Linked DNA regions of Homo sapiens: regions 1 and 2 are each linked to region 3. The links are contacts of gene promoters, found by promoter capture Hi-C in human tissues and cell types (Jung and others, 2019). All regions are on one chromosome and are shown on one strand. Each heading gives the region's core, a stretch centred on a gene start or on the middle of the fragment in contact. The rest is flanking DNA. Distances are from core to core; before and after follow the strand shown.

Evidence for each region. The method cuts DNA at HindIII sites, captures the fragments that hold promoters and counts their contacts. A contact is called where the count stands out against the background at its distance.
Region 1: a fragment that was not itself captured here is called in contact with the fragment with the promoter of GRXCR2 in region 3 in 3 of the 25 tissues and cell types used here (bladder, liver and mesenchymal stem cells).
Region 2: a contact is called between a fragment that was not itself captured here and the fragment with the promoter of GRXCR2 in region 3, in 2 of the 25 tissues and cell types used here (lymphoblastoid cells and thymus).

Annotation. Positions count from the first base shown.
Region 1 is chr5:145,728,551-145,731,867 of GRCh38, reverse strand. It overlaps a transcript of PRELID2 not described here and the pseudogene TRPC6P2. Among named protein-coding and RNA genes, the nearest start is that of PRELID2, 110 kb to the left of the region's middle. The HindIII fragment of the contact is 4,568 bases long and covers 1-3,317 here.
Region 2 is chr5:145,618,875-145,622,699 of GRCh38, reverse strand. It overlaps a transcript of PRELID2 not described here. Among named protein-coding and RNA genes, the nearest start is that of PRELID2, 210 kb to the left of the region's middle. The HindIII fragment of the contact is 4,857 bases long and covers 1-3,825 here.
Region 3 is chr5:145,871,207-145,874,550 of GRCh38, reverse strand. GRXCR2 (glutaredoxin and cysteine rich domain containing 2) reads left to right here and starts at 1,537. Exons shown (of 3, transcript NM_001080516.2): 1 at 1,537-1,918. The coding sequence starts at 1,583. The HindIII fragment of the contact is 8,071 bases long and covers 1-3,344 here.

The sequences.
Region 1 (3,317 bases), core at 686-3,185, 140 kb after region 3:
TCTTTAATCTCCTTATCTCCCTTCTACTCCTGAGGGTTCAGATTTCCCCCTGGAATCAGGGACATGAAGTCCTCTATTCTGGTCCCTGCTGAGAGGGAAAGGTAGACCTTTATGGCCTGTGCCTTCTTTTATAGAAAGAGGCGCAGGTATTTCTGATTCATCGTAATGGAGACAAAAACTCTTTTCTTTGCTAAATTTGACAACTTCTCATAGCATAATTTCAAAAGTAGTGAGGGGTAGAAGGAACAAAGTATAGTGAGGAAGGGAGAAATGACCTGCCATGTTGTAATTAGCCTCATTTTACTAACGAAAACAGTAAGGCTAAGAATGATTTAATGTCATGCCCCAGATTATTCAGATAGTAAGTGTTTGGCTCCAAATCCAGTGCTTTTTCCCATGTCGTACTCTCTAACAATTTGGAATGAAGAGTTCCACAGTGTTCAGACCACTTTGATGGGTGAATACCTCTCTGACAAATTGGACTCACTGGATTCCCTGTCAGTATGCATCTTAGTCACTCTGCATTTTAGGAATGGAGCAGGATTATGGCTGAGAATAGAAGCCGATATTAACATTTGCCTTGGTCCATAGCTGTGATCAATGGATCAATGAAAGGATCCTTATGTTCAAAACTGAGTATGTTCCAAGAACTCTGGGAATCCCAGCAGATAATTTCCCCTGTGAAATGCAAATATATGCTTTAAACATTAGTACACATGCAACAATGTAGAACATGTAAGAGTTAAAGAGGAAAGAAACACGAAATGCAGCTGGCAGTTAAAGACAGGTTTTCTTTAGTTAAAACCTGAGAGACACTCCTGGCCAATTTCTATCAGGAGTGCTTTCTCTTACAGATTAAGAGTATGTATTAGTTTTAGGGTGAGGGGGCTTATCAGAAGCTTCGAATGTTACTGTTTGAGGGAGAAGTTTTATGGTGGGGTTGGAATGTCTCTGGGTGGAGGGGAGTTTGCCTTGGGGCAGGCATCTTTCCGGCCAGAGGGATGTCATCTCGAGACTGGCATCTTCCCAGCTGGAGGGGGTTTATCTTAGGGCTAGCCTGTCTCTGGCTGGGGAGGAGTTTGGAATGTTTCTGGTTAGAGATGTTATTTGTGGTTTATGGTCATGCCGACCTTAGTCATTAGACTGATGCCCTTTGGATTTAGGCAGTTTTTTTTTTATTAAGGTGAACTTTAGAATGAGGGGCTTGTCCAAGATGGCGATGCTCCTGCTCTGTCAGAACAAAGTTGCGATGTGATATGATGTGATGTGGATGCTGAGTAGTTATCTAGGCTCACTCACAGGTAACAAACTTGCTTTTGTACTTCTTCCAACCAACCTCATCCTCATTAGCATGGGTGATTCAAATTTATGCCTCAGCAAAATTACAAATGACTCCTGTTCATGGATCTTCATGCCATGCATGAATAGTCAAAATCACCTTAGTTTGGCATTTTGAGAGTGTGCTAGTTATTAGTGCTGCTTGTTAAATATTACCTGCTTTCTACATTACGGGCATGGGGTAGAATTACACTTCTCTTCTCTTCTTTGAAATTGGGCATGGCTATGAGAATTACTTTGGCCAGTGTGTTGGGAGAAAAGCTGAGTGTTGGGAGAAGCTGAGGCAGGGCTTGCATGTCTGACATAATGTAAAAGAGTCTTGGAACATGTCCAGGGTCCAGGGTCTAAAACTCCTCATGGCCTTTGGAACACTAAGCTCTGTGCTAAAGGGTGGAAGGCTACCCTGACGCACCATAATCTAAACCCAGGGCATAAATCCCCTTGTGGCTCTGGAATGTGTCTAGACTTGCTGGCTCCTTGCTTCTAGCCCTCTCAGGCTCCTAGATTGATTGTGTCTTAGAATTGGCCATATAAAGGCTAAACCATCACAACTGTAAATCTTGTGCTTAATGCAATGCTCCCTTTCAACCCCACATTCTCACCACCTGTTTCTTTGATCACCAATAAATAGTCTGGGCTTGCAGAGCTCAGGGCCTTCACAGCCTCCATACTCACATTGGCCCTCTGGACCCACTTTATCTCTCAAACTGTCTTTTCTCATTCTTTTGACTCCACCGGACTTCATTGCCCCCACGACCTGGTGTTGGGTCTGATCACCCCAACATTCCTGGCTGCCCAACATGGGGCAAGAAAGACCCCGGTGAAGGAATGCTAGAGCATGTAAAAGCAGAGGACGCATCGTCAACGGACACCCAAGGATGACTGAAAGAAGCTCAGTGGGAAAGCTGAGTACTCGGAAGAACCAGGGTAACAATGGGACAAAGTGAAAGCAAACATTCTGCTTACTTGAATTTCTTAAGGCATTTATTATGTAGAGGGTGAGGCATGGGGTGTAAGACCCAGAGGAATCTGAGGCTTGTTTATTCAGAGGGCCCCACTTAGAGAAAAAGAAGACAAAGTGAGGACTTAGAAGGAACCTGGGCAAGTAAAGTCATCTTGAAGCTTCAGTTTCATGGGTAACCTGCCTCTGCTAGAGAAAAACAGATTTAATGAGAACAGAGGCATGATATGGGCTAAATGTAAAGAAATTTGGACTCAAGGCCCCAAGGAATATTTGTTTGAGTTGTGGAATATGCTTGATTTTGGTATGTTAGCAATTTTTGCAGCATCATTCATTGTAAGATTCAGGGCATTCTGGCATGCTTCCGAAACCCAGAGCATCACTGATACAAATGATACTTTGAAGGACTTGACAAAAGTCAAAGAAGCTCAGTGGGAAAGCTGAGTACTCGGAAACCAGGGTAACAATGGGACCAAGTGAAAGCAAACATTCTGCTTACTTGAATTTCTTAAGGCATTTATTATGTAGTATTTCACATTATCTCCCAATGTTACTTTGGCCAGGAGGGAGTGGGACCCCTCTGATCCTCAGATTGTGTCTAAAGGTCTTTGTGCAGTTGCTGTGGTTTTGAGTTTCTCTGGGATAGCTTGTATTTTGCCAGCAAATGAAAGCTTTGGACCTCTGCAGATGTCACTTGGAGGAGCAGTCAAAGACATCTTCAGGTTCATGGTCATATTCATTATGGTGTTTGTGGCCTTTATGATTGGAACGTACAACTTCTACTCCTACTACATTGGTGCAAAACAAAATGAAGCCTTCACAACAGTTGAAGAGAGTTTTAAGACACTGTTCTGGGCTATATTTGGACTTGCTGAAGTGAAATCAGTGGTCATCAACTATAACCACAAATTCATTGAAAATATTGGTTATGTTCGTTATGGAGTCTATAATGTTACAGTGGTCATTGTTTTGCTAAATGTGTTAATTGCCATGATCAACAATTCATTCCAGGAAATTG
Region 2 (3,825 bases), core at 499-2,998, 250 kb after region 3:
TTCTATTTAACTAAAGAAAGTTCAAATATCTTAATAACCTTCTTGAACAATACAAGGAAATCATAATACTTTAACTCCAATGATCCCTCCCAAGTTTATGCTATTTTTGCCCAGTAGGTTAATTCTTTTATTAACGAATACACAATAAATATTATTATTATCTCACAGGCATATAATTGTTTTGGTTCATCTATATTTCCAACAGTTTCTTTGCTCACTAATCATTGTATCTCAGATTTGTTCCTGGAGAATATAATTTAGGATTTCCTTTAGCATAAGTAGTTACTGCTAAAGTCTGTTAGTTTTCATCTTAAAATGACTTTATTTCACTACTATTCTTTTTGAACAACAGCTTTATAGGGATATAAGTCACATATCATACAATTTACCTATTTAAAGTATGCAATTAAACAGTCTTTAATATGTTCACATAGTTGTGCAACTATTACCACCTTAAAGTTTAGATCATTTTATTTACCACCTGAAAAAAAATTTTGTTCTTATTAGCAGTTATTCCCCAGATTTCCTCAACTCCCAGCCCTAGACAATGGCAAATCTGTTTTCTGTCTCTAAAGCTTTGTTTATTCTGGACAGTTAACATAAATGGAATCATATAATAGGTGGTTTTATTGGATTGGCTTCTTTCACTTAGTGTAATGTTTTCCAGGTTTATCCATGTTGTAGCATGTATCAGTAGTTTTTTTTCTTTTTGTTTTACTTTTAGTTGACATGTAATAACTGTACATATTTATGAAATACAAAGTGATATTTTAATACATGCATGCAATGTGTGATGACCAAATAGAGTTATGAGTGTATTCATCTCATTCATCATTTCTTTGTGTTATGAACATCCGAAATTCTCTCTTCTAGCTTATTGAAAATATGCAGTAAATTCCTGCTAACCATATTTATCCAACAGTGCCATAGAATACTAGAAGTTATTCCTCCAATCTAGCTATAATTCTCTATCCATTAACTAACCTCTTTATCCTCCATTCCCCCTACCCTTTGATGCCCCTAATAGCTACAATTCTACTGTCTTCTTCCAGGATCTCATTTAATTAATTTATTCATTTTTGCCTCCCATATATCAGTGAGAACATGTGTATCAGCAGTTCATTCCTTTTTATTGTAGAATAATATTTCATTGTATGAGTATGCCACATTTAATTTATCTATTCAGCAGTTGATGGGATTTGGGGTTGTGTCTACTTTTTTGGCTTTTATCACTAATGTTGCTAAAAACAGTGGTGTGTACAAGTTTTTGTGTAGATATAGAATGTCAAATCTCTTTGTATACAGCTAGAATTGCTAGGGCACATGGTAACTCTTTTTTGCCAAGTTGTAGCTGCACATTTTACATTCCTACCAGCAATGTATGAGTGCTCTAATTTCTCAATATCTTTGCTAGGATTTGCTGTTGTTGTTATTATTATTATAATTTTATGATAGCCGTCCTAGTCAGTGTGATGGGTTTGATTCACCTTGCTTAATGACTTAATGATGTTAAACAATTTTTCATGTGCTTCTTAGCCATTTGTATATCTACTTTGGAGAAATGTCTATTCAGATACTTTGCCAAATTTTTAAATTGTCTTAACAGTCTTTTTACTGAGTAGTAAGAGTTATTTACATATTCTGGATACAATTTCCTATCAAATATATTATTTTTATTTTTGGCAGTTAGTTTTTCTGGTATGCAACTCTTCTTTAGGCTGACAATTATTTTCTCACTACTTTGATGATGTTATTCAGATGTCTTCTGGCTTTCATTGTGGCATTTGAGAAGTCAGATGTCAGCCTAATGTTATTCTTTTGTAAGTTATTTATTTTTCCCTGGCTATCTTTAATTTTGTGTGTGTGTGTGTGTGTGTAACAGGGTCTTACTCCGACACCCAAAGCTGTGCCATGGCTCACTGTAGCCTCGACTTCTGGGATCAGGTGATTCTCCCACCTTAGCCACCCACGTAGCTGGGACTACAGGTGTGCACTAACACTGCATTTTGCCATGTTACCGAGGTTGTTCTCAAACTCCTGGGCTCAAGTAATCTGCCTTCATTGGCCTCCCAAATTGTTGGCATTACAGGCATGAGCCACTCACTACACCTGGACTTTTTAAAAAAAATTTATTTTTTAGAGAAGTTTTATATTTAAAGTAAAATTGAGAGGAGGGTACAAAGATTTCCCCTATACCTAGTGCTCCCTCACATGCGTAGCATCCCCCATTTTCAATATCCCCCACAAAAGTGCTACCTTTCTAACAGTTGGTGAATCTACATGGATCATCATTATCAGCCAAAGTCCAAAGTTTACATTAGGGTTAACTCTTAGTGTTGCACATTCTGTAGGCTCGGACAAATGTATACTGATATGTATTTACCATTCTCTGGCTGCTTGTAGATCTCTTTGCTTTTGGTGTTTTACTGGAGTTATGCTTTGGTGTTTCACTATGATATTTTTAAATGTAGATTTTTCTTTAATTTATGTTGTTCAGCATTCAACATGTTTCCTCTCTTTTTGGACTGTGGTAATTTAGGGCGACTACAAATAATGCTGCTATGGATAATATGAATGTGTTCAGGTTTACATATGCACATGGCTAGGAGCAGAATCACTGCCACAAAATATGTGTACTTTCAGTTTTACCAGAGAATGATAAACTATTTTCTGAAGAGCCTAAAATAATTTACAATAGTCTTTGATGATTTCCATTGCTTCTCATTCCATCAATACTTGAAATTTTCAGACTGTTTAAATTTAGCCCATCTGGTGGGTATGTTGTAACCTCATTGTGGTTTCAGCTGGAATTTCTCTATTATTATTTGATTTTCATATATTTACTGATTGTCTTGATTGATAATGGGTTTTCATATGCTTTATGACCATTTTCCTATCCCATTTTCAAGTTGCCTGTACAGGTATTTTACCTATTTTTTAAAATTGAATTGTCGGATGTTGAGGAGGCATCATGGTGGATGCGAGGCAGGGCTAGATTGCAGCTCCAACTCAGATGGACAGAGCAGCAGGGGGAGGCTCACATCATGAATTTTAGCTCCAGAATGACCGCAGGAATAAATCAGGAAACCGAGAGGACCCTCAGACTCTCTGAAGGAAGCAGACTGCTCCTACAGGACCTGGGAGACACCCCAAATACTGTGAGTGCCCAAACTGTGGAAGTGGGAAAGGGAGATCCTCTGCCCCCAGGCACACACTCCTGCTAGGGAAACTGAAGGTCTAGTTTGCAGGAGAAGATTCTGACCTTAGCTGGAGCTGAGTCAATTTAGACAGCCGAGTGAAATACAGGGGTAGAGGAAGCAGTGGAAAAGGCCCTGGGAGCTTCCTGCGTCCCCACACAGGCCATTCCTGCCTAACATCACAGGTCCTTTGGGAGCGTGGCCACAGGCAGGAGGAATATGCCACAGGGAGAAGGAAGCCTCCAGCTGAGTCTTGTAGCTTTTGAACTTTGAACTTTTGAACTTTGAACCAGTGGAGAAACCTCCTGGCCAGAAGTTGGGAGAGGGCACCAATCTGGTGTGCAGACTCCACACGTGGGGGAAGAACTAAGGCCTTTTTCTTTCACAGCTGGGAGGCGGGTAGCCTGGGACAAGTTCTCAGCCCTGCTTGCCCACTGCCTGGAAACAGGCTCAGTGCTGTTAGCGGGGGTATGGTGGGAGTGAGACTGGCTCTACAGATTGCATGGAAGCTGGGTGAGGCCTGTGACTGCCAGCTTTTCCCCACTTACCCTGACAACCTGCATGACTCAGCAGAGGTGGCCGTAATCCTCCTAGGTACATAACTCCATTGACCTGGGAACCTCATGCC
Region 3 (3,344 bases), core at 288-2,787:
TGATAGGGGTAGATGAAAGAAGGCAGTGGTGAAAGAATCCATGTGAATGGGCTGGGTGCGGTGGCTCATGCCTGTAGTCCCAGCACTTTGGGAGGTCAAGGCAGGCGGATCACGAGGTCAAGAGATTGAGACCATCCTGGCCAACATGGTGAAACTCCATCTCTACTAAAAATACAAAAATTAGCTGGGCATGGTGGCGTGTGCCTGTAGTCCCAGCTACTCGGGAGGCTGAGGCATGAGAATTGCTCGAACTCAGGAGGTGGAGGTTGCAGTGAGCCGAGATCGTACCACTGCACTCCAGCCTGGCAACAGAGTGAGACTCCGTCTCAAAAAAAAAAAAATAAAATAAAATAATAAAAAAAAAGAATCCAAGCGAATGGCTGTAGGGGAATAGGAGGGGTCAATTTGGGTAACTCAGTAAATGGTGATGCTGGTAGCAAAGACAGGGAGAAAGGCTTTACTCCACTTTCAGCTCCTCACATCCAACCTACCATTTTCTACCCAGCCCAAGGGCCCTTTTCTTTACAAACCTTCTTCCATCCTTGTCTCCTTAGAGACCACTTCCTTCCCAGAGTGGCTATTCTGGGATTCAGCTGTGGGCAGTTTGCTCTCTAAGCATGAGGTTATTATTTCACCTGTGTGAGGTCTGTATGGGATTGTAGGACTGTTCTCAGGCCCAGGTCACATGCTTCTGTGCTATTCACTCCAGCCACTAGTTCAGTGTCAGGCATTTACGAAGTCCAACAGGCAATGGGGACTTGTGCTGTGATTGCAAATGAAATCTTAAATGTAAAATACATACCAAGTGGAGGTGCTCTGGTTAGCGTAGGGGGAGAAGGCCCAGAATCCAGGACCCTCGGCCTTCTCCTGTTCTTAGCAGCAGCCTCCAAGAACCTCCACTGTATCTAGGACGTCATTCCCTCTTCTAGAACCAGAACTGGAAAACTTCTGGTTGTGTGGGCTGATCTTGGGTTTTGGAGTCAGATAGATCTGGGTTCAAATCCCTGCTCTGTCACTTACTTAGGTGTAATAGAGCAGACAAATGATGAAGATAAATGACAAGTGGCTCTAAGCCTCACTTTCCCCTGTGTAAAACAAAGGTAAGATTTTCTTTGTAGGGTTATCGTGAGGATGAAATAAAATAATGCATGTAACAATCTCTGGTACTTATGAAATGCTCACTAGATTTTAATTGTCATTGCTAACAATAAGAAGACACTTGTTAACTAATTGAGTGTCTGATCCTTATTGAATTGGCACATGTTCAGTCTAAATAAACTTCTTCATCCTCAGGTTAAGAAAGGTTAGGGTTGGGGTGAAGTCATGGTGAGCTTGGGATTATGAGAAGAATCAATCTTGTCTTATATTCCATCCACTCCATCAAACCAGAATCACCTGCCTTTTCATGAGGGTCTATCAATATTTAATGTATGGGTGTCAGTTGCTGTAAACTGACCATACCCCAGCAACAACTTGAATTAATTATATGCAGGAGGAGAGAAAATAAAATGCCTTTTTCTCAGAGGCCCAAGTTTCACCGGCTGCACGGAAGGCTGGAGACCACAGGGTCAACTTTCTGCTGATGGAGGACCCTGAGAAAAAGCTGAATCAGAAGAGTGATGGCAAACCCCGGAAAGTACGATTTAAAATCTCCTCCTCCTACAGCGGTCGAGTATTGAAGCAGGTCTTTGAGGATGGGCAGGAATTAGAGTCACCAAAGGAGGAATACCCTCACAGTTTTCTGCAAGAGTCTCTTGAAACAATGGATGGTGTTTATGGGTCTGGGGAAGTCCCCAGGCCCCAGATGTGCTCCCCTAAGCTGACTGCTCAGAGGATCAGTGTGTTTAGAGAGGGTAATGCCTACACCTTGGCAGGCGGCCAGCCTCGGTTCAACGATTACAAGGCGAATGACCATAAGGTTGGTATTGTGCATGGCATATAGGCTTTAAGGGTAGGGCTTCCTAAAACGTGTTTAGAGAAACTCCTAAATGGTTCAGATTTGTGTCTTGCTCCCCCTCCGGTACCAACCAGAACTGTTGGTGCACCAAATGGGAAGTTGTTATTAGACGAATATTTCTGGGGTAAAAATAACATGCTTGTTGACTACTAATTGGAAAGTGCAATGAGCATATATAGTATTCAAATTCCATCCAAGGTAATACATTGTAATTGGATCTTTGACTGAGTTTTCCTGGAATGTAAATTAAATAGAGGTGCAGTGGTTTTCAGGTTGTCAGACTGCGGTTTTAGACAATTATGCAGTCATTTTGTTTCCTGAAAGAGCTGAGTATTTGAAAGTGCTCATTTTACTCCAGCCAATTACTCAGCTTGCAGTTTATCCATGTCTTGTTTTTTACCCCTATTGCCTTCCTCATACTGCCTGCTTTGTCTATTTATTTTTCCTTTCCATTGCTCCTTAGCATAAGCTCTGGGTAGTTGGAGTCCTGGGAAGGGATGGTGAAACGCAAATCAGCCAGAGGATATGTTATGTGAGGAAGAAGTTTGAGCTAATGGTTCGATTGAAGAATGTGTTTAATCTATGAATTTCAATTACTTCCCAGTACCATGGATAATCAAAAGTCCATACATGATTTTCTTTTAAGGTAGAACCTGGAAAACATACACTGGTATCCAAAAATTCATAGGAGATGTATATATGCTGTCAGTGGGACCATGAATGACTTCTTAAAAAAGATAAAATACAATTATATAATGTATCCACGTTATTAATGAATAGCACACCAGGATGTGTTCTCATCTTTAAAGTGTGAAAGCCAGATAATTACTCTTGAATTATTTTTATTGTTAGTTTCCTAAGGGAATAGATAACACATCTATTGCAGACAAATGTATTACTGGCTTTACTGGCATTGGTAAAAGTATAATTATGGGCATGTTCACAATTACCGAAGATAACACTAGGCTTGTTTTTGATATTAAAAGGGGCTGAAATGAATGACCTCTTATCTTAATGGGGTGACGTATGCAGTACAAAGTGTCATCATGTACTATCTCTGTCTATATCTATGGCATTGGGTCTTTACTATAACCTTGGGGAGAAAGGCCAAAGTATGGTCATTCCCATTTTGCAGAAGAGAAAAATTGAGTGCCAAGTTGTTAAGGGATCCATCTGATACTACAGGGTCATTGGGTACAGAGTCAGAATAAGAATCCAGATCTTCTGATGCTACAAATGTTTTGCTTTAGGGCATGTTCCTTTTTTTAGAGAACCATATTATTACATAATAATAATAGCTACCATTTGTTGAGTGCTTATTAGGTCCTAGGCACTTGGCTAGTCTTGTACTTATACTATTTCTTTTTAACTATGTCTTATTTGTAGA